Regions from separate parts of the Homo sapiens genome. Here all the other regions are linked to region 1. Evidence: promoter capture Hi-C in 16 types of primary human blood cells and fetal thymus (Javierre and others, 2016). All regions are on one chromosome and are shown on one strand. Each heading gives the region's core, a stretch centred on a gene start or on the middle of the fragment in contact. The rest is flanking DNA. Distances are from core to core; before and after follow the strand shown. Region 1 holds the start of NME5 (NME/NM23 family member 5). Region 2 overlaps KLHL3 (kelch like family member 3). Region 3 overlaps KLHL3 (kelch like family member 3). Region 4 overlaps HNRNPA0 (heterogeneous nuclear ribonucleoprotein A0). Region 5 has its middle 18 kb from the start of HNRNPA0. Region 6 has its middle 38 kb from the start of HNRNPA0. Region 7 has its middle 56 kb from the start of HNRNPA0.

Region 1 (3,143 bases), core at 452-2,951:
GCAGTGGCTCACACCTGTAATCCCAGCACTTTGGGAGGCCGAGGCGGGTGGATCACGAGGTCAGGAGTTCAAGACCACCCTGGCCAACATGGTAAAACCCCGTCTCTACTAAAAATACAAACATTAGCTGGACATGGTGGTGCATGCCTGTAATCCCAGCTACTCAGGAGGCTGAGGCAGGAGAATTGCTTGAACCGGGACCTGGAAGGCAGAGGTTGCAGTGAGCCGAGATCGTACCACTGCACTCCAGTCTGGGCTACAGAGGGAGACTCTGTCTCAAAAAAAAGAAAAAAAAACTATAAAAGAGGAAGATTAAAAATATTCAATTCTATTTGATTTATCCTTAACAATGCTATTTATATTCACTTTCAAACCCCTAGAATGACAATGTTTACTAATTGCAGAACATAAGGCTTAAAACATTAAATGTTATGCCATAACTGAAAAAAGTACCAATAGCCTAAAATTCCATCAATAGAAGATCAAGTAAATAAATTGTAGTTCTAATACACAGGGAAATATTACACAGAAATTAGGAAGAGTGAGATCAATTCAGATGCAATGATCTGGAATCCTATCTGAGGGACTCTGTAAAGGGGTCAAGGGAAAGGGACTGTTCTGTTTTATGGGGGGAAAATGTTTATAAATGCATAGAAAACTCCTGGAAGAACAGAAAGTGTTAAGTGGTTGCCTCTCTCTGGAGCCTGGGACTTGGGGTAAAAGAGGACAGGTGAAGGAAAAGTCCATTTTATTTCTCATTTTACATCCTTTTAAAAACTATCACATATAACTTTTATACTTAGAAGAATAAACTTAAATTTAATGCTGAACACTAAGGGTTTAAATGGGTAGGCACATTTACATAAGCATTTTTTTTTTAAGGGCAGAGAGGAAAAAAGCATGAATCATCATACCCAGAAGTTACCTGAACAATGGTGAATCCGGATCTAAGAATAATATCTTGTATCTCCTCCTCTTTGTCAACAATATCTGGTTTGATAATGGCCAGAGTTTTTTCTACATATATCTGAGGTGGAGGCATTGATATCTCCATTATGGCTTTTCAGGGCACAAATTAAGAGTTTCTTAACAGGTATCAACTGCAATGACATGCATTTCCCCCCACCCCCATCGCAAATTCAATGTAATTATGATTAAGAATAGCAATAGTAGGTACTTGATTTTATTAACTGATGAAGGTAGAAACTGCCATGTTTTTCTATATACAGGGTCTCAATAATAGGATTCCTACTATGTCCAAATCGAGCCCCGGCTTTTCGTATACGATGTCACCAAGGCAGGAAGGACTATGGGCTCACATAACCAGAGGCCAAGGGGCGACCCGAAGGCCTGGAACCAGCAACAGCCCCAGGCAGCAGAGGGCGGTGGGGCGGGTGGTGGGGGCTCGAGGGGGCGGTAGAGCGGGTGGTGGGGGCTCGAGGGGACGGTGGCTGGTGGGCAACCACACACCATTACAGCGGCGGGTGAGCGGCCTCGGCCAGCTGCCTCTGTGAAGCGACCCTGTCCCGCAGGGACCTCTCTGTGCATAGGGTCAGGCTAATTGAAAAGCAGGGCCTCTAGGTCCGCGGGGACTTTCCGGGTTGCACCTGCAAATTCTGAATTTGACCCTCTCTAAGTACTCACCTCAGCGGCCGTCCTCATATGGTACAACTTGTTGCTAGGAGACCTGAAGCCCCAGCGTGGGGACGGTGGCTGCAGAGAGCCAATCCCAGCAAGGAACCTTGCAGCTTCTGGCCAGTTCGTTTTAACCAAAGGGAGCCAGCCAGTCACTTTTATTCTCCTTGTGAATCTTAGAGCACTAGATGTTTTCTGACATTTTACTCATAATTTATCTTATTTCATCCTTCTTCCCGTTTGAAGGATGCTTCAATTATCCCTACTCTATAAATGATAAGAACCCCTCCCCCAACCATTCCTTTCCAGGCGGTATATGTAAATGACCCGTGTCAGATACCTTCGTTTCACCAGATGATGCTGTGCCCTCTATGCCCAGCTTATCTAGTCATTAAAAAGCAATATTCCTATTGTGTAAATACATTTATTTATAGAGTAAAAGGCTTAGAAAAGATCTAATGGAATTGTCTTTAAATCAAGCCGATGGAACAAAGATGTGGGCAACATTTATGGCATAAATCCAAACCTCAGCTTCCCCTTTTTTTCTTTATATTATGTCCACATGCATCTTTGACTCGTTGGTTGTGAGTTAAGGTATTATTCTTGTTGGAAAAGAAAATGAGGACATGGCAAAGAAGTACCAGGATCCTCTCTAGGTCAGAGTTCCGGGAGAGATTCAAACTCTAGAAAAAGTCAGGATAGCAGCTCCAGGTTAGAAAACAGGTTTTCCATCATCCACTGGGTTAGCTGGTTCTCCTTCCAGACTACTTGAGCCTTTTCTTTTGTCTAACCAGATATTCAGTACCTAAAGGGTTAAGGAACACATAGCAAGCTATTATGAACCTTAAACACTAAAGTATTGCAAGTTTATTTTTTTGGCAAATAGACTCAACTATACTTTTTTCTTTAAAGTATGATGCTACCCAGAAAAGAAACCCACAAATGTCTTCTAGCTACTATATCTTATCCCCTAAAGATGGGAAAGTGTGAACGTACATTAATAACAACAGATGAAGCAACCAAAAAATACACAGTGACTCCAGCCTCTTTGGAGTTTAGCCCTTGACTTGAGGCTCTGGAAGCGGGAATTCCCATTACTTGTCTATCCTCAGCTCTCTTGAGAGCTCTTCACTGCTGCCTGCATTCCTAGACTACTTCACTATCAGAGCTGGACTTACTGAGGCTCAGGGTTTTCCAAACCAGCAGGCACATTATCAATCCTTCAGGGCCTTAATCACCTTTAAAAATAAACTCTGAGAACACAGTCACCTCGAAATCACCTTTATTCTCATAGGCGTTCTGAAATCAAGATTCCAGAGGCTACAGGTATCTGCATACAGTACCTGAATCTGCTCCAGGACTTCTTGCCGCATCTCCACAGCCATATGGTATACATGATGATCAGAGTCATTGTACATTACAGCATTTTGGAACATCAGCATCAGGTCTCGCAGGAATTGGGCCATGGTGCGAATCCGACCCTTAGAGAGATTTCTCTTCAGGCTAGT
Region 2 (3,143 bases), core at 1-2,500, 470 kb before region 1:
AATAAAGTTGTTGGATGGGGAAAGAGTCACAATTCTCAAAGAATCACCCAACAGATTACATACTATTTACATGGAGGGAAAATATCCTCAAATAGAGAGATCTGATAGACAACACCTTAAACAAGGGACCAAATTTACCACCACCCATAAGAGGACAAACTTATATTCCTGATTGTGATTTAATTGAAAAGACACAGTATCTCCTAAGTACAATTCTTCCTAAAATATTAATATATAACCTGAATCTTACGGTGAGGAAACGATCAGACAACTCTATGTTTGCAACATTCTATAGGACGGCTGGCCTGGATTTTCAAAATTGTTAATATTATGGAAGACAAAAAAAGGTAGGGAGACAGTTCTAGATTAGAGAGATTTATAGACAAGGCAACTAAATGCCGTGCATAAACCATAATTAGATTATGGCTCTAAAAGAAATAGCCATAAATGACTTTTGGGGGACTAGTAAGAAAATATGACTATCCACTATATGTTAGATAATATTCCTAGATCAATATTAAATTTCATTGGTATGATAATTGGTTTTATGGCTAGAAAAGAGAATTTCCTCGTTCTTAAGAGATACATGCTAAAATATTTAGGGGTGAAGTGTCATAATGTCTGCAATTTACTGTCAAATGATTAAGCAAAATGAAAGATTAAGTCTAGAGAGATAAAGTAAATGAAGCAAAATGTTAATGGTGAGTTTAGGTAAAGACTACATGAATGTTCATTCTTTCAAACCTACAGTAGGTTTTTAATTTTTCAGAATAAGCAGTGTAAGAGAGAAGAAAAGAAATTCTAAGGAAAAAAACTACAACAAAATTTATAGGATGGCAGAAAGTTGAAATGAAAGCTTTATCTGCCAGGAGGAAAAAAGGACTCCAATTTTTCTTAACCTAAGTACATTTTTTTTGTGCAAATATGTTAATGTGCTTTTCCCCTAAAACACTTGGCCCTGTTTTCTAATTATATACTTAAGTCAGGCTGGACATAACTTGAATTTGGCAAGGAAAGGAAAGGGAAGGGGAAAGGGGAAGGGAAAGGGAAAGGAAGGGAAGGGAGCAGAAAAGGAAAGGAGTAGTATGTATGTATAGTTTGCTCCTATTTCTATATCAAATAACCTATATGTGTACAAACATAAGCACATACACCATAGAAATCCCTGTCTAGTTCATTTTTTATTAGGAACTCTTATCGAGCTATGTCCCTCATCCTCACAGCATTGTTTGAACGACTATGTTTCTTCCACTAGCCCTTAAGATCCATGAGAGACCTTGTCTTATTTGCTGGCACATAACACAAACTCAAATATTTTTTAAGTGAATGAATGGAAAATGAGTTCAGAATAAGCATGGAAGGAGATGTGTGGAAGCTGCCCAGGCTGGAGCAGAGAGCAGGGCTGGGGAACAAGGGGTTGGAATCTTAGTGGGTAAGGCAGAGTCAAAGGCAGATAGTCTGCCTTTGCCAGGTTAGGTGATGGGCAGCCACAACCCCATTCTGCCTTGTATGTGGTTGGTTAGCCACACCTCTTTCTACTTCCCTTTATAGACTGTGAGCCTATGCAGAGTGAGAAGTGTACCAGCTCTGTCTCTGCACGCCATCTCCCAATGCTGCCTAGCACAACACAAGGTAACTGATTGGCAAAGCTTAGCTGAAGAATGAACTACAAGTCCTTAAGCGGGTAGCATTTATTGATCACATTCTTCCCCATCAACCAGCTTAATTTTTGTTATAAAAACAAAAAAGCAAGCTGAATCTACCAAAGTCGATATTTAACCTTATCTTTATTTTTGGCTTCACTTGTGTAACTAGTTCCACTTAGTCACACTGTTTATCTACTCAGCTATGAAAGCCACAGCATTCGGCAACAACAGTGACCTTCTCAGCAGCTAGAGAAGGCCACATATTTTTTTCATTCAGACTTCATGCTTGAAAAATAAACAAGCAAATAAACTTCCAACTTGCTTTAGCTTTCAATGTACCCAAAATGGTTCCCAATAACCCTTCCCACCAAGGGACTCTCCATAAACATCGCCTCCCCAAATTCTCAAGATAACCCAATGATTAAATACTCTTAAGCCTTATTAAATGACTTGCCCAAGTCCCAGAACTAAAAAGAAGCAGAGCCAGCTCTGCTTGGTTACATACAAAACCAACTTCAGTGCTTATGCTCTAAATCCATTATTCTTAGCTGACTCTCAAATGTCTAATAGGTCTAATAGCAGGGGGGTTGCAAACTGCTGCCCACAGGCCAAATCCAGCCTGCCACCTGTTTTGGTAAATAAAATTATGTTGGAAGGCAGCCACACTCATCGTTTACATATTGTCTATGGCTGCTTTCACATTACAGTAGCAGAGTTGAGAAGCCACGACAACATAAAGCCTAAAATATTTACTATCTGGCCCTTCCTAGAAAAAGTTTGTCAACCCCTGGTCTATAAAATCTAAGCAGAGACTATAGATTCAATCATAGGATAGGGTGATATCTACTTAGCTACTACTTTTTGTGATGAAATAATCAGCTGCTCATAGGTACACTTAGGGTTTCACTTTTTAAACAAAGAAATAGCCCCATTTCCTCACTGATTAATGTCCTAGAACCAATTTCTTGCATGCTACAAGACTGTCAAGTGGAAAGGAGTTGGAGAAAATCAGATTCCATAGCTCCCAGCTCACCACACTTCAGATGTAAGCACAGGTCTTGGCCAGAGAATACCAGATGAATCCAGACCTTCCACTCCAACACTCTGGACAGACAGGCAGCCAAGCTAGGCTGGACTTGCACACCCCAAGGAAAATGAGGAGTCCTGGGGTACTTTCCCTGCTTTCAAAATGTGTTTTGAAGATCAAGAAGCACTCCAGTTAAAAAGGCAGGGCACTGACTTGGCAAGGGGAGAAGTTCAATTGGGAGCAATTCTCAGCAAAACATAGGAAGAAGAGAAAGACGCTAATTTTGACAATATCAGGGAAAAAAAACTAGGTTCCTATACATGGACCTGAATTGTTACTCAATCTGAGAAGGACTAACTTTATTAATAACAACAAGCACAGTGCTAGGCATTTTACACATATGATCTCATTTAATCCACCAACAATCTCTGTGAAGTAGGTGTCACTGCTCACATTTTACAGATGAGGAA
Region 3 (3,143 bases), core at 364-2,863, 410 kb before region 1:
CACTTTTATTTTTTAATGAAAGCAGAGTTGGCCTTCAGAGTTAAATTATAAATAAAATATACATAAAATAGTAATTATAAAAGTTATAAATAAAAATATATAAGCTCTAAAAATTAGGCCCTCTTTTAGCACAGCACCTTCCAAAGCCTTCTTTCTTGCCCTCCTCTATCCTCTAAATTACAGATCCACATATCCAATGTCTTATTTGACTCCCCTAATTAGATTTTACACAGGTAATTCATACTTATTCAAAATTTATGTTCCCCACCCTCCCTTAAGCCTGCTACTCTTTCTGTATTCTCTATCTCAGAGGCATAACCAACCACCCAATCACCTATCCAAGCCAAAAACTGGGGTGTTATCCTTGATATCTTCCTCCCTCTCTCTCTCTCTCACTCCTCACATACAGCCATAAATCGAATCAATCCTATGTCCATTAATATCCCTGCACCCCATTTCCTTCTCACTTTCGCTACCATTACAACCCCATTCCAGGTCATCATTGTCTCTTGCCAGGATTATTATAATAACCTCCTCCCAGACTCCAGAGGGACTTTTCCAAAATGTCAATGTGTTCCAGGCATGTTCTACATGAAGCCTCACTGATTCCTCACTGCATTCAGAATAAATCTCAGGGACCTAGCCTGGCCCTTAATCCCATCGTTGCCCTGAAGACTTCTTATTACCGTAATACTAAAATACTTGCAATAGCCAAAATACACTAGGCTCTCTGCCTTGTGAAGTTTTGTCTCACTAGAAAACTGTTCTATCTTATTCCCCACTCATTCTCCCGTGTCTAGCTAGTTCCTACCAGCCTTCAAGCCTCTTCCCTGAAGCCTTCCCTCTCATTCTCCACTACTCACTAGATTAGTTAAAATCTAGTGGGAAACTAGGTTAGTTTCCCCAGTTCTGTATTCCCACAGTACTGTGCTTCCTTCTGTATTGTATTCTAATTACCTCTTACTTATCTGTCTGCCCCACACAGTGTGTGCTGGTAAATGTTTAACAGTTGATTGGGAGGAAAGGAGCCCTGATTTGTAACATTTGCCAATTTCCAGACTGTAAATACTCCCACCATGGCAGATTTTAAGCTACCAACATGATGCCACCGAACATGAGATTTGGGAAGAGATGTGCAACAGCACACCATCATATCACTGTATAGTATTTCTACACCAAGACACAATAGACATAACCTCAAAGCCCTAGAAGATTACAGTAAAAAATAATTAGAAAGTGATGAGTTTGGGGTATTTATTACATTCATTTTTAATATAATTTATAAGTTACATAATTTGTTAATAATGGCTATATTTAATAACTGGCTCCGAAAATTCCTGAAAATTTAACAAACAGCTTTTCCAAGTGGGTGAGTGCTGACTCCAGCACACTGCTGCCCCCTCTAGATTGTGAGCTCTCCATGAGAACCAAGACAGTTATCTTAGTTGCCTCTGAATTCTTAGCTTCTGTCACATGACAGGTGCTCAATGAATGATTACTGAGTAAATTAATAGGTAGATAAGTAAATTAGGTTTAACTACTGACCACTGTAGCTTTCCTCACTCCCCTTCATTAAAATACTGATGGCTTTGTCCCCCTCAACTTTCTCTCCATGACCCCTCCACCTCACGTTCAGAGAGGAGTACTTTCTTAGGCAGCCCAGTCCCCTGCATTGATGACACAGAATCAGGAGGATGGGAGTGAGAGAAAGCCAGCAACAACTAGAGAAGAGGGAAGAAAGTGAGATAGGTTACTGCTTACTGTGTCAGTTCTTAGACTCTTTCTATTGCTGAGGAAAATGGAGGCAGTGAATGGAAAGGAAAGGATACTAAAAAACATGCTAGAAAGGCAGGGGATAGAAGAGTCTCCAAGCAGGCTGATTGTGCAGCAATGTTTGGGGGAATCCAACAAATGAGGAGCTCCAAGTGATGAGAACTCACGGACACAAAGAAGGGAACAACAGACACTAGGGCCTACTTGAGGATGGAGGGTGGGTGGAGGAAGAGGAGCAGAAAAAATAACTATTGGCTACCTGGGTGATGACAGGTACTAATCTGTACAACAAACCTCTGTGACACAAGTTTACCTATATAACAAACCAGCACGTGTACCCCTGAACCTAAAATAAAAGTTAAAAAAAAAAAAAAGAAAAGAAAAAACAAATGAGGAGTTCCAGAACATCTTGGGTGTGCGAGAATGTAGAGGGAAGGAAAGTGGAGTCTGAGAAATGCTGTTAAAGGTTATGATCTGTTTCACCTCTAAAGGTCTCCAAGAGATGCAAATAAAATTCAGAAGTCATGAGCTGATACTGGCCACATACAAGAGGCCCAAGCACATTATGTTCAAGCTAGAGATGAGATGGAATAAAGAGGCAAAACCACTCAATGAAGGCAAAACAACTGTGAGCCAGGGCAAAGCTGTGCTGAATGCATTAAAAACTCTCAACAAAGAAAGTGTCATTTAGAAAGGAATAACCAAAAACTAAGAATCAGACAGAGAAGAAAGCCCTCGGTCCAACCCATCACACTCTGTCTAGGAAAGTGATTTAATCATCAGATATCGTCAGCTGGTTCAGCCTCAGGTCAGATCCTCATGGTGGAGTTTGAAGTCTGTAAATACTCCAATGCCATAACTCAGTCCCTAGTTTACTCTGCAGCCTTTTGACCAGTTTGGCCTCCCCCGTGGTTGTCCTTCAGAGAGGTAGAATGTGGTTGCAGGCCCTCAGGAATATCTTGCCAGTAATATTTTACTGCAAATCAATAAACTGATGACATGTTGACTATTGTATTTTAGGTTCTCATGAGGTCATTGGCATGACTCTGCTTCTCCAACTCTGGACAGCAATGGGACCCTATATAGATAGGATTTCTGAGCCCCTGGCACTCTGGTCAAACTGCAGATCTAGTAAGTATCCCAATCCTAAAGTTCAAGACCAAAATGATCAAACTTAGATTTCTACTTCTGGATTAATGAAGAACCTGACTCTTGAAGATGTCCAGCCAGCAGGATTCAGGACTTGGTGGTGCAGTCCTGCTATCACAAAGTACCATTTACACACAGGTTACCAGAGAGCCCCATACTCTTCATCCTCTTTCAGCAGTGCCACCTCAGTTCATAGAATTAGGCTGAATCGCTATAATAGC
Region 4 (3,143 bases), core at 244-2,743, 390 kb before region 1:
GTCATAATTTTTATGCAAAGACTGTTTTCCTTTCAATAAATTTTTCAATAAACTGTTCTGTTAAGGTTAAATTCCTAGTAATGGTGTCCCAGAGCATATGAATACTTTAATAGTTCTTAATAAATAAATCCATAATTTTACTCTCCTCATTTGCCATTTTTCATAACCTGATGGACAAATTCCGGTCAGCAGTTTGTTACAAATGTATAAAGTGTGACAAAACCAAATGGAGGGAAGCTTTTGGAGAAAGAAAAGGAATTAACAAAGCAGAAACAGCTCAGAAGAGCTCTCCACTAGACAGAGCTGGCTGACTTCTGTGACAGGTTGCCCAACTGCTCCTTCTATCCATAACCTGATGTTTTCCAATTAACTTGGTGACTCTTTGAAAAAAAAAAAAAAAATCTGCCTGTGTCAGGGATCCCCCGGACCAAGCCCATATTGAGATTTGATAGAAGGGTTCACAAAACTCAGCACTGCTAAGTATCGTACTCATGGCTAAAGTTTATTACAGTGACACAGTAAGTGTACACAGTTGGATCATACAGGAAAAAGACATAAGCAGAATCTGGAGGAATCCATGTGCAGGCTTCTTTAGGATCTCTCCCTCCCATGAAGATTCACACAGAGCACATTTTTATACGAGGGATGTTTCTGCCTAGGGACTCAGTATGCAAGGTTTTCATTGGGAGTTTGGTCATATAGACATCCTTTACCTGGCATGTACCAAAATTCCATACTCCCAGAAGGAAAGCAGGTGTTTAGCATAAATCATCTTGTTTGAACAGTCTAGGTACAGTGAACCACCTTTATTAGTGAACAGTGAGAATACCCCTAAATCCACGTGTTCAGATAAGGGCCAACCATGCAAGTAGGCCACTCTAAAAGATACCAGCCTCAGGCCAGATATAACTTTTTCTGCACACCCCCAATTCAAGATTCATTTTGGCCAAAAAGCAGCATCTCTCAACATATATATGTAGATACCTATGGTAGAGTTGAAAAGATTGTGGATCACTTATACCTTATCCAAGTAGTTCTGATTGCTTTCCTTATAAACCTTCATTGAAAGCAGCTGTATGAAAGGAATAGGAATTTTGGGAAACACATCTTTTAAAATTCAAATCAGATCATGGAACTCCTCTGCTCAAAACTGAAATGGTTCACCATTCATTTAGTGAAAACCAAAATCCTTACAACAACCTACAAATCCCTACATGATCTGGCCCCTCTGGCCTCATTATTCCTTTCCTCCTCTTCCTTCAGGTCCAACAACCCTGAACAATTTGCATTTCTTCAGAGGCCAGACACAGTCCTGCTTCAGGGCTTTTGCTCTTCCTAATCCTCTACCTAGAATGCTCTTCCCATACCTATATTGCTCACTCCCACATTTCCTTCAAGTCTTTGCTCAAATGTCACTTTCTGAGAGACCTACCCATACCACCTATTTTAAAGTATGCTATCCTCACAAACATCCCTTGCAACAATCGCCATTCCTCACCCTAATTTTTTCTATACTTCTCATCTTCTAACATACCATATAATTGATTATGTCTTATTGCCTGTCTCTCCCCAGTAAAATATAAGCTCTTTGAGGGCAGGGATTTTTGTCTTTTTCTTCTGTATTTCCAGCACAATCACCCAGCAGAAGAGTAACAAATTTTAACTTGACATACTAAGAAACAGGGAGGCACTGAATTTAGGGATAGTAACCTAGTGCAAATAGCTAGATCTTCACGTTTGGTGGTGTGGGAAGATCAAGTCATAAGAAAATGTGAAAGAAGTTTTTTTTTTTAATTTCACTGAAGAGATGACCACAGTATATTCAGTTATTGAAGAGTTTTAATAAAAGGAACTATTTACAAGGGTATGGGCACAGTTAAGGCAAATCAACAAGGTTTGAACCTTCTTGGGACTAGAGAATCTAGCAATAGGAGACAGTTACGAGAAGCCAGAAAAGACCTAGAGCTATAAGAGGGCCACTGGAGCAGAGCTGTGGCCACTCACAATCTCTTGCTAAGTATATGAGAAAGAGAAGGAGCAAATATTTCAGCCTCACTTTTCTATCACTGTCCAAACCCACCATGAATAAAGCCAGAAAAGAGAGTATGCAGTTCTTTATTTGTCAGCCTCCCAGGAACACAGAACAAGAGAGATAAAGATGGAAAATAGATCAGGAAGGGCAAAAAGAATATCCAGCACAATGGCCATTTTGTAAAGCTATATGCGCAAGACACAATGCTTCAATGTGCTACCAGCATCTTCAACTATGTCCAAATCTTCCCTCTAAATCTTCTCTTCCTATTACCAGTGGCATCACCATCCTCTCACACAGTAATTTTGATTAATCTACTCTCTCTTCCTCATTCTTCATATATCCAAATATTTGTCAATTATGCTTTCACAACTTACCTCAACTTCTTTGTCAGTCTATTTCCATTGCTCTTTGTTCATGCTCTCATTCTCTTACCTGGTTAACATCAGTTGTCTTAGCAAACTTGCCACTTTGAAACATCCCCCACTGCCATTTATGTTACTCAGTGCTACTGGACTAATCTTTGTGAATTAGTTTCACTACCATTATTGTTGCTCAAAAACCTTTAATGACTTTTACTGCCTACCCTAAGTCCAAACTCCTTAGCCTACTACTCAAAGACCTCAGTAACCTGGTTCCAACTTCATTTTCTCAATTTATTTCTCACAACTCTCTTTTATCTTAGTACAAATTAGACATTTGTTAGCTGGAAGTCAATGAAGCTTAGTAGAAGGAGCGAAACAACTAGAATTGGTCAAACTTGGATTCAACTCTCAGTTCTACCATGTCACCAGCTGGGGGTCCTTGGGAGTTACTTTTCTGGCATGAGATTTAGCAACCTTATCTGTGAAGGTTACTGAATGATGCAATGAGAACATTTGTAAATGTACCTAGTGTTTGGCATCCAATATGCATACTTCTCCAAATACGCTCCATGTTTCTGCCTATCTGTCCTCCACCTAAAATGCCCTCTTTCTCCTCCCACCTTCTCTATAAGACCTATCTTTTAAGGTTAAATGTTATATGCTCCACAATGCCTCTCTTGATCCTTCTTCCTACCTGAAGTCACCTCTCCTCAACACTCACATTATTTATACCTTCCTAATATTAA
Region 5 (3,143 bases), core at 173-2,672, 370 kb before region 1:
CAACATGGTGAAACCCATCTGTACTAAAAATACAAAAATTATCTGGGTGTGGTGGCAGGTGCCTGTAATCCCAGCTGCTTGGGAGGCTGAGGCATGAGAATTGCTTCAACCCGGGAGGCAGGGGTTGCAAGCAGTTAAGCAAGTCTGGAGCCGAGATTGCACCACTGCACTCCAGCCTGCACAAACAGAGCAAGACTCTGTCTAAAAAATAAATAAGATGGCTAATGGGTACAAAAAGAGTTAGAATAAGTAAAAGCTAGTATTTGATAGCATAACAGGGTGACTATAGTCAGTAATAATTTAATTATACATTTTAAAATAACTAAAAAAGTGTAATTGGATTGTTTCTAACACAATGGATAAATGCTTGAGGTGACAGACACCCCATTTACCCTGAGGTGATTATTATCCATTGCATGCTTGTATCAATATATCTCATGTATCCCACAAATATATACACCTATGTACCCATAAAAAATAAAAATTAAAAAAAAATCAGCAGAGATTTAAAAAAGAACATTGAACAACACAGGGTATTAACAGAAAAATCTACACACACACCTCCATACACATACACACACGCGCGCACACACACACACACACAAGATAAGGCAAATATGGCAAAGTATATATAATTATTGACTCTAGGAGGAAGGCATATGGGTACTCATTGTATTTACCTTTTAACTTTTGTATGTTTGAAAATCTTCATAACAAAGAAACACATTATATAGCACTGTCAGAAAATATGCCATAATGGTTCAGGGATTCTATCCAGGTGGTAGATTTATGGATGACTGTTGTTGCAAATTTTCTTCTTTTACTTTGATGCATTTTCTATAATGGACATATATTATTTTTATTATCAACAATTAAAGCCATATTCTATTGAGCATTAAACAATTGTCCTATCACATGTATCTACTGTAATGTGTCCTTTTTGCTAAATTACTTGATAGTATAATAGACACAACAGAGGCCAGCCACCTTTTCTATCACTCTTCACATTTCTGAGTTCTCCCTCTTAGAGGCACAAGTTTAGGGCAATTTGTGTTTGAACTCTGAGGTCAGGAAGCATCTTGGGAAAAGTTTCTAGACAAATGGTTGCTTTACTAGTTAGGGTACACCCTCACTAATGTTGTGCTATCAGTTTTAGAGCCATAAAACTGAATTATCAGTGTGACCCCCTAGATCAGTGAATGGCACCACTATCCAGCTGAGGTTGCTAGATGTCTTTTCCCTTGACAACCACCCCACCACCAATTCCACTTTCCAGACATGCTTAACTGATTGCAATTCTCCTAAAAGACATGCTCTCTGAGCTCCAGGCCTTTGCACATATGGTGCCCTTTGTCTAAATTAATGTTCCACAGCCTTTTTAATGTCATGGTGCACACAGAAAAAAAATTTATATAATACACAGGTGTAAAGTGGAAAGAATGTGGTGTTATCTGCAAGGGCCTTGCTAAAAAAAATTCAATACGGAAGATATTTAATATTTAAGATAACAAATATTATTTATATTTAAGATATTTAGATGTACTTAAAATATTTAATAAGATATTTTAATGAAAACCTTTAGCTTACTAATTTAAAAATTGTTTTTTCTTTGTAATTTGAAATAATTCCAAACTTACAATAGAGTTGCAACAATAATAATGCAAATAACATTTTTCCTGAAACAGTAAAGAGTAAATTGCCAACATGATGCCCCAGTACCCACCACTAAGACTTTAGTGTATAATTGCTGTGAACAAGGACATTCTCCTATGTAACCACAATATAACCATCACAATTAGGAAATTAACATTGATCCATCACTACCAACTAACCCACAATCCCCATTCAAGTTTTGACAATTGTCCGAATAATGTGAATGGATCTAGTCCAGAATCACACTCTGCTTTTGGTTGTTATGCCTCTTAAGTCTCCTTGACTTTGACTCTCTTGAAGACTTTGACTCTCTTGAAGACTTTGACTCTCTTGAAGACTTTGACTCTTTGACTCCTGACTCTTTTGAAGATTGCAGACTTATAGACTAGTTACTTTGCATAATGTACCTCAATTTGAATTTGTCTAATATTTCCTCATAATTAGACTAAGATTACATATTTTGACAGGAACGTCACAGAAGTGATAAGGCAACCTATCAGGTAGTAAATGATTTATTTTTGTCCCATTACTGTTAATTTTAATCACTCAATTAAGGCAGTGTCTGCCAGATTTTCCACTCTGAAGTTGCTTTTCTTCCGATTTGTAAGTACTAAATTTGTGTGGAGGTATTTTGAAACTACATAATATCCCTTTCCTTAGCAAACTTCCATCCACTAATTTTTAATATTCATGATGATTCTTGGCTGAATCTATGATCATTTATAAATCTATGATCATTTATAAATGGTGATTTTCCTACTCAAGCATTACATCTACACTTACTAGATCTCTTCTCCCCAATTATTTATTCATTTATTTATATTCACATGGACTTATGAATTCTTGTTTTTATTCCATGGATTGTAATCTTCTACTACTATTATTTACTTTGGTACCCAAAGTATGTCAGATTTGGCCACTGGGAATTCATTCAAACTGACTTCTGTGTTCTTTTGACATGTCCCCATAATTCTTTGAGCACGTTTTACTTTCTGGCCTGACAAGATATTTTAGGCTCATCTTGGACTTTTCCTGCCCTATCCTGGAATCAGCGATTTCAAGAAATCTTGTTTCCTTTTAGTGGAGAATGGTACTTAGAAATCAAGATATTGGCACTAGATATGGCACATTGCTGTTGGGGGGTTGCTGCCCGAAGACAGAGCTAGGGGATATATGTATATATACATACCCATGGCACATTATGTATACACATACATTAATGTATGTAATTCACACATTTACATCTATATTTATTTCTACATCAATCTATCTAACCATGAGTTCACACCAGTACCTCAACTCCAATCCAATACCACAAAGTTTATTCCAGTTTTTTTTTCTTTTGCATATTTATAACTCTCTGAAAGTGGAAAACTTGGCTCCCATTTTCCTCAATATATTTACTTATTGGCTCAATCTTGCCTATGTATAATCAATTTCCCTTCCTGCTGCCACCCCTTCACGAAGATGGCCTACTTGCCCTGCTCAGA
Region 6 (3,143 bases), core at 253-2,752, 350 kb before region 1:
ACTCTTGGCTCACTGGAGCCAAGTGATCCTCCCACCTCAACCTCCCAAAGCACTAAGATTATACAGGCATGAGCCACCATGCCCAGCCTTGGCCTCTTCTTACAAGGGCACTAATCCCATTCATTGATGAGGGCTTCACGCCCATGACCTAATTACTTTCCAAAGGCCACGTCTCCAAATACCATCACCTGGGAATAGGGTTTCAACACAGGAGTTTTGAGGGAATACAAACATTCAGTCCACTGCACATACACAGATGCTTGATAAATGACAGAGATGGCATGGTGAAGTAGTAGGGGCAAGGACTGTCTTTTTGATAAATGGTAGTAGGACAATCAAATATCTGTGAGAATGAAATGAAGTTATATTTCTAGCTGGTACTAAACCAAAAAGTCAACTTCAAATAGATTATAAACCTAAATGTAAGAATAAAAACTGAAAGCTTTTAGAGGATTATATAAGAGAAAATCTCATGATCTCAGGATAAAGAATTTCCTAAGAAGCAGAAAGCACTACATTAATGTTTGTTGAAGATAATGAACTGAGTCACAAAATGTCACTGAAGTAAAAGGTTAGAGGTGCACACCCAAATGGAATGAAATTCCACAAAGTAGAAAAGAAGTCATCAAAATGGCAAGAGAAAGCCAGAAATAAAGACAATTATTGTCATTTACAGTAGTTGTCTCTATAAAACTGTCATGAACACTGCACTAGCAAATACTGAAGCTCTGATCCTAGGGGAAATATAGGGCTAGGTTCCTGGTAAGCCTCTGGTCACATGTTCATCAACCAATCAATACATAACTTGTTTTATAAGTGTTTCTGCTTAATGATATTTTATTTAATATACTCATGGCAACAGCACTATAACTCATGATTGAACAAAGTTTATCTAACACATATGTTTTCTCAATAAGATACATCACAGCCTTCTTCCATTTAAGAACACTAGAAAGCACTTCAGTACTACACTTGGGGGCCATTTAAACAGTGAAATCACCAACAAAAAGCACAAACAGGTTAAAAAAAAAAAGCACTAAATCAACCACAAAAAGACAATTGTTTATAGTGTGAGAACTGAAGTAAGAAGACAATGTTGCCTTGTTCAGCCTCAATTGGGAACGAGTCATCAGGTGACTTAAATTTTGAACCACTCTGCACATGTCCACAAATGACCATGCAAGTCCTGAGTACTGATTTTGGAGTTACAAATAAATTTTAGTGAGTAGGTGAATTTGTAAATACAGAATCCTTGAATGAGGCTCAACTGAATAGATATACAGAAGTCCCTCGCTCTGGGGTTTTGCTTTCCATGATTTCAGTTACCTGGGATCAGCCATGGTACAAAAATGTTAAACAGAAAATCTAAGAAATATACCATTTGTAAGTTTTAAATTGTCATTCCAAGTAGCATAATGAAATTTCTCACCATCGTGCTCTGTCCCGCCTAGGGTATGAATCACCGCTTTGTCCAGTATATCCATGCTGCATATGCAACCCATCCATTATGGTCCAGAAAAAAAACACTGTGTACACAGGCTTCAGCACTATCCACAATTTCAGGCATCCACTGGGGATCTTGGAACGTATCCCTCAATGATAAGGGAGGACTACTATATTCAGTCCTGTGAGGCCTGGACTGTGAGAGAAGGTACATTTTCAGTTAAGTCAGCAAAGGAATCAGGGTCCTCAGAGAAGGACCATGTGATGCTCTGAACAAAATGGGCAAGAGGGTACTGGAGGGGAACAGTGCCTGAATGGGCTTACATTTTGAGGAACAGCCAAAGATGACAGGGATGAAGGAACTTGATACAATCAACTGACCTCAACATTCCAAATGAAATCCTAGCAAAAGTTATTTCAATGGTTTTTATGCTTTGACTTATTTGTCTGCCATGGCATCATAGCATACTGATCAGGTCTGGATATGAAGATGTGTCAGGCATGCTCAAACATCAGTACACCCCAGACTGTTACTTCCTTAAGAAATGAGTGTGGGCTAATATTTAACAGTGTACCCCTGACTGTTACTTCCTAGAAATGAGTGTCGGCTAATATTTAACCACAAAAGTCATTGTTTATAATGTGGTATTTACAATGGGACTGGAGAACTAGAAACAATCTATGTCCATCAGTGGGAAACTTGTTAAACTATGTTCTACCAAAAAAAATGGATTTTTATGATAAAAGCAGTAGCATTTTTGAAATATCTTCTAATTTATGTTGCCAATTCCCACCCCTACCTCTACCTTACCCCTTTAAACTTAACCAGCCATCATCAAAGAGCGTTAAGAGAAGGTGGGGTCCTATAATAACATAGATATAAAAGTAAGCACTGTCAAAAATAAAGTATTTATTTTAGCTGCCATTTAACAATCAAGCTACAGAGTTCTTCCTGTCTTCTATTAAAACTTCTCCTTAAAACTAACATTGGGAAGGACTTAATAGATGTGGGGAAGGGGAGAGATATGACAGAAAACTGGAGAGGCAGATATCATATAAGACTTCATAAGGAATAGTAGATAATTTGGATTTTACCACAACTGCAATTAGATACTGTCAACAAGCTTTAGGTGAAGAAAAAGCAACATGATCTCATTTATTTTTTTTTTTCAAAATCTACTCTGACGCAGTGTGGAGAAATGATTGGAAGGAGGTAAAAGAAAACGTGGAGAGACAAGTAACTACACCATTGCTTTAGTCCAGGTAAGAAATGATGGTGGCTTAAACTAGGATGACTAGAATGGCAATGGAGTTTGAAAAAGGATGAACTTAAGACACATTTTAAAGCAGATAATCCTTTAAAATGCTAAAATTCAGGTATTACAGTGACAATATTATTTTTCCCCTCATGGTATTTCCCAACTTTTTGTTAAACAATAGTACTTACATCTAAAATTTTTAAAACATCACTTACTTTAAAATAATTCAACTCTAAAGCAAACAAATAAGATACTTGTAAGCAAATCCAGGCCTAATATTTGCAAGGTCCACAGCCAGAGTATAAATGAAAGCCCATAGTATATCTCTAAAAATGAAAAAGTTATAAAACAATCTGTTAAATAAAATGTTTAATTCATGTGCCTTGATGAAAATTTTAAAATATGTATAAAAGCATGATTTTTTTTTTTTTTTTTTTTTTT
Region 7 (3,143 bases), core at 227-2,726, 330 kb before region 1:
GATTGCCAATCTCTCCCTCTCTGATACCTTGGTGTGTGTCATGTGCATCCATTTTACTATCATCTACACTCTGATGGACCACTGGATATTTGGGGATACCATGTGCAGACTCACATCCTATGTGCAGAGTGTCTCAATCTCTGTGTCCATATTCTCACTTGTATTCACTGCTGTCGAAAGATATCAGCTAATTGTGAACCCCCGTGGCTGGAAGCCCAGTGTGACTCATGCCTACTGGGGCATCACACTGATTTGGCTGTTTTCCCTTCTGCTGTCTATTCCCTTCTTCCTGTCCTACCACCTCACTGATGAGCCCTTCCGCAACCTCTCTCTCCCCACTGACCTCTACACCCACCAGGTGGCCTGTGTGGAGAACTGGCCCTCCAAAAAGGACCGGCTGCTCTTCACCACCTCCCTTTTTCTGCTGCAGTATTTTGTTCCTCTAGGCTTCATCCTCATCTGCTACTTGAAGATTGTTATCTGCCTCCGCAGGAGAAATGCAAAGGTAGATAAGAAGAAGGAAAATGAGGGCCGGCTCAATGAGAACAAGAGGATCAACACAATGTTGATTTCCATCGTGGTGACCTTTGGAGCCTGCTGGCTGCCCCGAATATCTTCAATGTCATCTTTGACTGGTATCATGAGGTGCTGATGAGCTGCCACCACGACCTGGTATTTGTAGTTTGCCACTTGGTTGCTATGGTTTCCACATGTATAAACCCTCTCTTTTATGGCTTTCTCAACAAAAATTTCCAAAAGGACCTGGTAGTGCTTATTCACCACTGCTGGTGCTTCACACCTCAGGAAAGATGTGAAAATATTGCCATCTCCACTATGCACACAGACTCCAAGAGGTCTTTAAGATTGGCTCGTATAACAACAGGTATATGAAAATTGATAATGCTGAAGCTCTTCTTGAATGGGAGCTGGACAGGTAATGGTGGGAATAGGGCAAGATGCAGAAAGAAGAAACCAGAACCAAAAATAGCAACTTTATACCCACTTTTCCTTTAGGCTAAGACTGCCTGTCTCATATGTCTATCCAACACACCCTCCAACATACACGAACACACATACCACCCCTTTTCTCTTAAGAAAATAACTCTAATAATTCAAACAACCTGCCCGCCATCATTTGTGGCAAAGAATGAGAATGAGAAAGCAGAGAGAGAGGCAAACAGCAGTGATGGCTGGGGAACAATGTTCACAGATACTTTTATTCAATGGAATATCTACAAAAGTTATGACTAATGATATGCCTAGTAAAAACACTGCTATACCTCCTTAGCACTGAAGCAAGTCTATTCTCAGATATGAAAACTGTAACTTTCAATCATATAACTATTCAATTAATTAGCCAAGTCAGAAAATCCCCCCTTAAAATTCATTAATTAATTAACAAACTAAGTTTGGACTAAAGTTGAAGGGCTGGTTTTAACTTAACATTTAAACGAAGTGTTGTAATTACAATTAATTCCCATGCTTGAATCATATCTCCAGTTTATGATAACAGTACATTTTATTCACTAACAATGCTATTAGAACTGGCCACAAATTCTTTAGCATAGCAATTATGCTAGAAATTGCTCTAACAAACTTATTAATGGCCAATGTAGATACAGCTTTCCTCACAAAGTGGCTTTTAATCCCTAATTCTTTATGTATATTAAAAAGAGGTCATTATGACTCTATTACTGGATCTCAGAGACTTTGTCAGTAGCATTTTTATAATTAGCGCCAGATTTTTAAAACCTTCTCATATATCTTGTGGCTTAAACATTTTTAAAAGAGCCCTCATCCCCACAGAGTTGCTTACACAGGGGAATCAACTAGACTGTTCTCAAAAGACACTAAGCTACTGTTCAAATTGCTATTAACTGAAGTCACTTTTATTAAATTGTGACCAGCTTTACCACTTCTTAGAACAAACCTCCCCTATATCTATCAAAGTTGAACTGCAGCTTATTTGTATGTTAAAAATGTAACTGTAGGCTGGACTCAGCAACTTACACCTGTAATCCCAGCCCTTTGGGAGGCCAAGGTGGAGGATCACTTTTGCCCAGGAGTTGAAGACCAGCCTGAGCAACACAGTGAGACTCCATCTCTACTAAAAATACAAAAAATTAGCCAGGTGTGGTCATGCATACCTGCAGTCCCAGCTACTTAGATGAGAGGAAGGATCACCTGAGCCTGGGAGATCAAGTGAGTCATGATCACACCACTGCACTCCAACCTGGATGAAAGAGTGAGACCCTGTCTCAAAAAAAAATTTTAAAAGTAACTATATTTTCTTTTGAATAAAAAGTAATGTTTCTGGAAACATCTGTGATTTTTCTATTGTGCTTTTTCTTGCACATTAGCTTTCACATTTTCCTCTCCTGAAAATCTCTTTCTCTCTTCCTCTTTCCCTCCTTCCCTTATTCTCTCTTTATTCATTCTCTTTAGGGTTTCTATTCTCTGTTTTATCATTTTGGAATAAATGAACAACAAAAGCACTGCAGAACACACAAACGAAACAAAATCTAACCATCTCATGGCAGTAGCTGTAAATGTCACTTTACTTACTTGGTAAAGAAATACCGATTCTAGGCCAGGCATGGTGGCTCACGCCTGTAATCCCAGCACTTTGGGAGGCCAAGGTGGGCAGATCCCTTGAGGTCAGGAGTTCGAGACCAGCCTGGCCAAAATGGTGAAACCCCATCTCTACTAAAAATACAAAAATTAGCCAGGTATGGTGGTGAGCACCTGTAATCCCAACTACTCAGGAGGCTGAGGCAGAAGAATCTCTTGAACTGAGGAGGCAGAGGTTGCAGTGAGTGGAGATCATGCCACTGAACTCCAGCCTGGGCAACAGAGAGAGATTCCATCTCAAAAACAAAAAGAAAAGAAAAGAAATATGATGCTAGTTGTCATTACTAAAATGATTCTGATCAAACAATTTGATGTGGTTTAGATGTGTGTCTCCTCCAAATCTCATGTTGGAAAGTGATACCCAGTGTTGAAGGTGGGGCCTGATGGGAGGTGTTGGATCATGGGGGCAGATCCCTTATGAATGGCTTAGTGCCACTGCCTTGGTGATGAGTGAGTTCTTGCTCTGTTAGTTCAGGTGAACTGGTTGTTTAAGGAGTCTGGCACCTCCTCCT

Evidence for each region. The method cuts DNA at HindIII sites, captures the fragments that hold promoters and counts their contacts. A CHiCAGO score of 5 or more calls a contact.
Region 2: a fragment that was not itself captured here is called in contact with the fragment with the promoter of NME5 in region 1 in 5 of 17 cell types (naive B cells, erythroblasts, total B cells and 2 more); the score reaches 7.8 in naive B cells.
Region 3: a contact is called between a fragment that was not itself captured here and the fragment with the promoter of NME5 in region 1, in 1 of 17 cell types (total CD4 T cells). The highest score is 5.0, in total CD4 T cells.
Region 4: a fragment that was not itself captured here is called in contact with the fragment with the promoter of NME5 in region 1 in 1 of 17 cell types (erythroblasts); the score reaches 6.1 in erythroblasts.
Region 5: a contact is called between a fragment that was not itself captured here and the fragment with the promoter of NME5 in region 1, in 12 of 17 cell types (naive B cells, total B cells, total CD4 T cells and 9 more). The highest score is 14.4, in naive B cells.
Region 6: a fragment that was not itself captured here is called in contact with the fragment with the promoter of NME5 in region 1 in 10 of 17 cell types (total B cells, naive B cells, activated CD4 T cells and 7 more); the score reaches 7.3 in total B cells.
Region 7: a contact is called between a fragment that was not itself captured here and the fragment with the promoter of NME5 in region 1, in 1 of 17 cell types (erythroblasts). The highest score is 5.8, in erythroblasts.

Annotation. Positions count from the first base shown.
Region 1 is chr5:138,137,727-138,140,869 of GRCh38, forward strand. It overlaps NME5 (NME/NM23 family member 5), which reads right to left and starts at 1,702. Exons shown (of 6, transcript NM_003551.3): 1 at 1,645-1,702; 2 at 926-1,059. The coding sequence starts at 1,054. It overlaps BRD8 (bromodomain containing 8), which reads right to left. Exons shown (of 27, transcript NM_139199.2): 26 at 2,979-3,143; 27 at 2,044-2,440. The coding sequence ends at 2,348. The HindIII fragment of the contact is 15,003 bases long and covers 1-3,143 here.
Region 2 is chr5:137,664,833-137,667,975 of GRCh38, forward strand. All of the region lies in intron 6 of KLHL3 (kelch like family member 3), which reads right to left. Among named protein-coding and RNA genes, the nearest start is that of MIR874, 19 kb to the left of the region's middle. The HindIII fragment of the contact is 793 bases long and covers 855-1,647 here.
Region 3 is chr5:137,726,848-137,729,990 of GRCh38, forward strand. The region is part of intron 1 of KLHL3 (kelch like family member 3); the gene reads right to left. Among named protein-coding and RNA genes, the nearest start is that of KLHL3, 7.7 kb to the right of the region's middle. The HindIII fragment of the contact is 4,572 bases long and covers 1-3,143 here.
Region 4 is chr5:137,745,170-137,748,312 of GRCh38, forward strand. HNRNPA0 (heterogeneous nuclear ribonucleoprotein A0) reads right to left here. Exons shown (of 1, transcript NM_006805.4): 1 at 482-3,143. Among named protein-coding and RNA genes, the nearest start is that of HNRNPA0, 7.6 kb to the right of the region's middle. The HindIII fragment of the contact is 2,517 bases long and covers 236-2,752 here.
Region 5 is chr5:137,770,638-137,773,780 of GRCh38, forward strand. No RefSeq gene overlaps it. Among named protein-coding and RNA genes, the nearest start is that of HNRNPA0, 18 kb to the left of the region's middle. The HindIII fragment of the contact is 4,693 bases long and covers 1-3,143 here.
Region 6 is chr5:137,790,490-137,793,632 of GRCh38, forward strand. No RefSeq gene overlaps it. Among named protein-coding and RNA genes, the nearest start is that of HNRNPA0, 38 kb to the left of the region's middle. The HindIII fragment of the contact is 2,125 bases long and covers 441-2,565 here.
Region 7 is chr5:137,808,432-137,811,574 of GRCh38, forward strand. It overlaps the pseudogene NPY6R. Among named protein-coding and RNA genes, the nearest start is that of HNRNPA0, 56 kb to the left of the region's middle. The HindIII fragment of the contact is 3,463 bases long and covers 1-3,143 here.